Regions from separate parts of the Homo sapiens genome. Here region 1 is linked to region 2. The links are contacts of gene promoters, found by promoter capture Hi-C in human tissues and cell types (Jung and others, 2019). All regions are on one chromosome and are shown on one strand. Each heading gives the region's core, a stretch centred on a gene start or on the middle of the fragment in contact. The rest is flanking DNA. Distances are from core to core; before and after follow the strand shown.

Region 1 (3,224 bases), core at 635-3,134, 470 kb after region 2:
ATTATAAAAATCCTTTCAAGTTTTTATAGCAAGAATTATTTTTAATGTGGACTATGGGTGCATATTAATATTTTGAGGTAGGAATATTAAAAAGGAAAAATGCCTAGAGCTATTCATGTTATTTAAAAAAATCCCTGTCTGTGGGTGACTAATTTCATGCATTTTTTAAAAAAGTCAGCCTAAGTGAATTCACATATTATGCTTATTGTTTAACCTTCTATTTCCTAATATTCATTGTACATTGCTTAATTAAGTGTTCTGCTGTTTGTTTGTTTGTTTGTTTGTTTGTTTGTTTTTGAGACAGAGTCTCACTCTGTTGCCCAGGCTGGAGTGCAGTGGTGCGATCTTGGCTCACTACAACCTCCACCTCCTGGGTTCAAGCGATTCTCCTGCCTCAGCCACTTGAGTATCTGGGCTTACAGGCGTAACGTACCGCACCCAGCTAGTTTTTGTATTTTTAGTAGAGATGGGGTTTCGCCATGTTGTTCAGGCTGGTCCGGAACCCCCGACCTCCAGTGATCCACCCTCCTTGGCCTCCCAAAGTGCTAGGATTACAGCCATGAGCCACTGCACCTGGCCACATGTTCTGCTTTATATGAGGATGCTTAATCTCTAAACACACATCTTAGATTAGCTCCTTGGTGTAAAATGGAAAATTTATAGATATAGAAAGGTTTTGGGACGTGCAAGTACTTTTTTAGCTGTTAATAGTTGAAGACCATTCAATGAGCTTTGATTATAGTTAAGCTGAATGACAAAGCTAGAATTTGCCCATTAATTTACCCTACAAAATGCAGTTATTTTACAAAATTTTTCCTTTCACCAAGTTTATTGCTTTCTGTAAAAAGCTTCTGCTACTGCTGCTCACCCTGAAATGAAGATGTGAGAAGAAGGGCCTGAACCCTGCCCTTTGAAGAGTTGACTGGCTTGCCCAGTGAGAGCTGTAACATGCAGTGGTGTGTGAATAGGGAGACTCATGCCATGGACCCAACCATTCTGATTACTTGACTTAAATTCCACCTCTTCTGTGAAAATGTCTCTGTGTCCCCAAGCCTGGGTTAGGTGCTCTTCCTAGATGTACCCGTTGGAACTCTATAGTCTCTCAGCATAGCACACTGTTGGTTTCTTTTCATTGTTTGACTATCCTCAAAACTGTAAACTCTTAGAAGAGTGACTGTCTTGTTCATCATTGTCTACCTAGAGCCTAGCAGAATCCCCAGCATGTAGTACCTGTACAGGTATTTCTGGGTAATATGACAAATGCAAGACTTGCAAATAAAAAATCTTTCAAAGGCAAATTTACTGGTGTCATTTAAGAGTTTAAAAATAAAACTATTTTATGAGATGGAAAATGTGAAGATCTTTAATTTTCTAGGGTTATGAAGAAATTTTAGAAAAAATGGCTTTGTGTTTTTGAAATGGTGTTAAGGCTAATATCCTTTTAGTTATCACAATTTATAATAAGAAAATTTTCATTTGAGATAAAGCAAGCAGATAACTCACAGTAGACTTAAAAACGCCTTTGTTCTTGGTTGGGTGCAGTGGTTCATGCCCGTAATCCCAGCACTTTGGGAGGCTGAGGCAGGTGGATTACTTGAGTTCGGGAGTTTGAGACCAGCCTGGCCAACATGGCGAAATCCTGTCTCTACAAAAAATACAAAAATTAGCCGGGTGTGGTGGTGCATGTCTGTAATCCCAGCTACTCAGGAGGCTGAGGCAGGAGAATTTTTTGAGCCTGGGAGGCGGAGGTTGCCATGAGCCGAGATTGTGCCACTGTACTCCAGCCTGAGCGACAGAGTGAGTGAGACTCTAACTCAAAAAACAGAAACAAAAACAAAAACCCACCTTTGTTCTTGAACAAATTTGTTATTTGTTCTTGAACCATTATCTCTAAAAGTGTTTAGTTGTTTATGACAGTCCATGAAAAAAGTGCCAGAATAAAATGCATTGTAGTGGATGCTGTTGGTGCCCTGATTGGACCCCCTTTACTTGGCAGGTGAACTACATCACCAGCTGCTATGGTGCTGACTGCTAACCACTCATAATTGTCCCCTTCTCCAGATAATTGCCCTTGGAAATGTTATCTTGGCCCTCAGTCAACGACTAACTGATTTGGTTCATAGACTCTTATGTGAGTCAACTCTGACGTGTAATTCACACTCCAGAGCTCCCCATGGGATCAGGCAGAAGTTTAGATAACTCACTACTCTACCTAACCTCTTCCCTGTCCCTACCCTGCTTCCTTCACTGCCTTACAGGTTTCTTCCAAGAACCCTCCTGCAATAAGTCAAATACACAAGGATCTGGGTCTGCTTCTAGGATCCTAACCTTAAGCTTTTACTAAAATGAAATTTCAGCTTCTGAGAGTAGGATGACTCCTGATGTCTTTTCGACTTGCTTGCAGAGGGTTCAAGAGCAAGGAGAATGACACCAGCATTCCCCTCACCCTATACATTTCCAGACTCATTCTACCTGTGATTCACGCTTATTTCTTCGATGTGATAAGTAGAGCAGGAACCTCAATCTTATTCAAATTAAGTATTTATTAGTGCAATACTTTTTTTTTTTTTTGAGATGGAGTCTTGCTTTGTCACCCACTGGAGTGCAGTGGTGCAATCTTGGCTCACTGCAACCTCCACCTCCCAGGTTCAAGTGATTCTCATGCCTCAGCCTCCCAAGTAGCTGGGATTACAGGCATGAGCCACCACGCCTGGCTAAGTTTTGTATTTTAGTAGAGACAGGGTTTCACCATGTTGGCCAGGCTGGTCTCGAACTCCTGACCTCAGGTCATCTGCCCGCCTCGGCCTCCCAAAGTGCTGAGATTACAGGCATGAGCCACTGCACCTGGCCATGTGCAGTACCTATTTTGTGTCAGTAATGTGTTAAGAAAGTTTTAGGAATATAGCGATGAATAAAACATAATTTTCTGCCCTCGAAAGAAGAAGAGAAAGAAGAAATTCCAACTTTTGAGGATATTGTTTAGGTAGAATTTAAAGCAAACAAACATCTTATCCAGTCTCTGCTTTATTTGTTTTTTTGAGACAGGGTCTCACTCTATCACCCAGACTGGAGTGCAGTGGTGTGATCACAGCTCACTGAAGTTTCAACCTTCCGGGCTCAAGCAATCCTCCAGAGTAGCTGGGACTACAGGCACAAGCCACCAGGCAGAGCAATTTTTTTTTAATTTTTTTTTTTTTGGTAGAGATAGGGGTGTCTTTATGTTG
Region 2 (3,203 bases), core at 329-2,828:
TGGCAATGACAGGGGAGTTGGTTCTAGCAGTTTTCCTTGTCTGTAAAGCATTTAATTCTCCTGTGCACAACTCGTTTCTTTTGAATAAATAATAAGAAACCTGAAATAGCAGACTGTGTATTTATTTTTGACTAAGTCTTCATTTAAGTAAAAAGAATAAAAGGTTTTTTAGATTCCTAATGCTAATAATGCTTAATAGGCCCAAGTACCTAGTCTTTAACATTTATTTCTCTAACTGCACTACCCCCACTTTGAAATATTTTGTTTATACCATCACTCCCTACACCCCAAAATTAAAAACACACGTTTCCAGGGCCTGTTTTTATTTTTTTGTTTTTGTTTTGTTTTGTTTTTGCCAGCTAGATTAACTAGAACTGGACCGAGAGAAAGTCCTCACACCTGAGTTCCTTTCTCAACTCTCCACCAACTGAACCGGGATGGAAACAGACTAGTGAAGTTCTTTCAGTTCCCTTAAAGGTACTTTGAGGTATATAGCAGGTATCTGAAGAATGGCCAGTTTACTCTAACACTCTTTGGTGGGCAAAGTACGAAAACTGAAAGACAGCCTAAAGGATTCCATTAAGAAAAAAGAGAAAAAATAGCCTAATAAAATATAGGTGTCGGAGGACCAATTGTGCAAAAGAGAATCAAGCTGGAGCTCCCTATTTTGCAGGAGCTGGGGCTGCACAGGGTGGAGGGATATAACGATTCTCTAGACTTCTCAAGACTGCCTTTAAAAAACTACCTCAACTTCGACTTCTAATCAATGATCTTGCAGCAAGTTTGTATCTGACCTGGAATTAGAAACAGCTTCAGATCCCTACTAAGCAAGTTTGCTTCGGGGTGGGTAGGGGTCTCACCCAATTACCAAGTCTGTAAGCTGATTCCCAGCACTTCCTATCTATCATCTGAGTAAAATAAATATAAGTGGAAGGCAAGAGTTCTATAAACATTGGGTATCACCACTGTATTTTAAGGTAGAGTGACAGGTGTCCTGTAGAGTCCCTGTAATCACCGGTAACTCTTCAAAAACTTCACGGAGGTTGTATTAGTATTTCCTGACTTGCTCCCGCTGACACATGCCTCCAAGGTCAGCTGGACCAGTGCTACTCATCACCGCAGTGCAGCTAACTGGACGGCCCACCGGAGGCGTGGACTCCTCGGGAACAGGCAGCTTGCTATGAGCCCCCGGCCAGGTCAGTGCATCTCTCTGGCCCTGTTTTCTTATCCCGACTTTCCCCGCTGAGAAAATAACGTGGCCGGCCAGAGGCTGGGGGCGCCGCGTGACCAGGGCTCACCTGTGTCCATCCTCCAGCTGCTGGCACAGCGTGGGCTCCAGCTCCAGCAGGCAGAAGTCGCCGGCTGCAGCGCCGCTGGCCCCAGGGCCGAAGCCCAGGCAGTGCACCGCCGGCAGCAGCTCGGCCGCATTCAGCTTGGCGATCTGCAGCGTCGCATCCACCTCGTCGCGGGTCCTCTTCATCGCAGCGCCGGGTCTAGGAGTCCCGCCGCGCCCGGGTGGCTGCGGGCTTGGCGGGCAAGAAAGAAGTTCCCAAGCAGCCGGAAGGTAGGAAACCTGAGCGTTTGAAAGCGCGCCAAGGCGGCCATGGGCGTGTTTCCGGGGCGGAGCGCGCTGCGGGCCCGCCCGCGGGAAGGCCTGCCGGCTTCTGGGAGCGCGAGCCCCTCCGTGCCCCACGCCGGACCGCGACTGCAGGAAGGAAACGCGGCTTCCCGGGGGGCGGTCTCGGCGGAAGCTCGCAGGGGCAGAGCTGCGACTCGGCGGGTTGGGACACGGATCCCTCGCCCACCCTTTCCGCTGTCCCCTTGCCCGCCCCCCATCCCCGATCTCCGTCCCTGGTTTCCAGCCGATGCTCCCATTTCCTCGCCGTCCACATTGTCTCACCTTCCGCCAGTGGCGGGCCCTGTGATAACCACTTGGCATGTATAATTCCATGAGCCCGTTGCCACAACCCTGTAAGGTGGTGCCTTGGTCATTCCCTTTTGCCAATGAGGAAGCAGGCTCCTTGCTCGTGATGGCAGAGTCAGGAGGTAACAGAGTCTGACTCCAGCCTAGCCGACTGTGGCTCTAAAAGCTTCCTGCGGGGTTTTGTGCAAATAACCCATGCTCGGGAGCGAGGCCCTGGGAAGGAGTATCTCGCTTCTTTGGGTCAGGGCACCATCATATCTGGAGACAACGGCGGGACTAGTCTATTCGTTGAATACCTAGTGTTAACCGAAAAGTGACTGATGCAGGTCTCGTTCAATAGAGGTTTATTTAAGCAAGGTTGAGGACGCACCCGAAGGGAAAAACAAGTCACAGGAGCATCTGTGACTTGTACATTTTCCAAAGGTTTGGGGAACTTCAGTATTAAGAGTTTTAAGAGAAAAGGTTTTCACTATGCACACATACATGAATTGCTTGTAACAGCGTAATGTGTAAACTTTCCCAGAGATGCTTAGGGAATCGTTGAGGGCCCTGGCTGTCCCTGAGAGCTAAAATAGTCTGGGAGGAATCACTTAAGAGATGGTGACCTCCTACTAGTTAGTGCAAATCAGACCTTGCTTGAAGTGAAAGAAAGTGGTGGGTAAGGTGTTGAATTCAAAGGATCTGAGCAGACATTTTTTTCAATTCTTGGGTAAAATGATACGAAAATACCAGAGTAGGGCATCCCAGGAGTCTGGGCAGTGCTTTCGTTGGTGGTGGAAAGATTGGTTCATGTGACCTACTTCTTCACTAGCCTCTTTTACATTTGAATGCATAGGAATTCGGTGGAATGAAATCCTGAATGTGACAGTGGTTGCCTGATAAGAAGTTATTATTGAAGGGAATCAACCATTGTAGTTGCTCTATTAAATGGGAAACATTCCCTACAACTAGAAGCAGTGTCAACTAGAACCCTGACATTTACATCAGACAGGCATGGCTGCGAATCCCAACTCTCTTCAGAACTTTGTGACCTAAGGCAATTTACCTAATTTCTCTGAGTACAACTTCCTTATCGATAAAAAAGCACATAAGACCTACATTCTTAAGATGTACATTCTAAAATGCATGGCTGCTTAATAAATGGCAGCAGTTCTTTTTGTTTTTATGTATTAATCATTATGAATTTAATTTCCAATTAATGGTATGAAATTATTGCCATTAATTTGATATTCTGTCAGGGAGCTGGACCTGTGTTCCTCTCATAAGACAAAATGATGAT

The links. The method cuts DNA at HindIII sites, captures the fragments that hold promoters and counts their contacts. A contact is called where the count stands out against the background at its distance.
Region 1: a contact is called between a fragment that was not itself captured here and the fragment with the promoter of DSCC1 in region 2, in 2 of the 25 tissues and cell types used here (H1 embryonic stem cells and mesendoderm cells).

The regions. Positions count from the first base shown.
Region 1 is chr8:120,325,214-120,328,437 of GRCh38, forward strand. All of the region lies in intron 40 of COL14A1 (collagen type XIV alpha 1 chain), which reads left to right. Among named protein-coding and RNA genes, the nearest start is that of MRPL13, 120 kb to the right of the region's middle. The HindIII fragment of the contact is 6,229 bases long and covers 1-3,224 here.
Region 2 is chr8:119,854,316-119,857,518 of GRCh38, forward strand. It overlaps DSCC1 (DNA replication and sister chromatid cohesion 1), which reads right to left and starts at 1,579. Exons shown (of 9, transcript NM_024094.3): 1 at 1,299-1,579. The coding sequence starts at 1,480. LOC105375728 (a long non-coding RNA gene) reads left to right here. Exons shown (of 4, transcript XR_928590.3): 2 at 360-487; 3 at 1,091-1,564. RefSeq lists an enhancer at 1,251-1,560 and a silencer at 1,671-1,730. The HindIII fragment of the contact is 8,457 bases long and covers 1-3,203 here.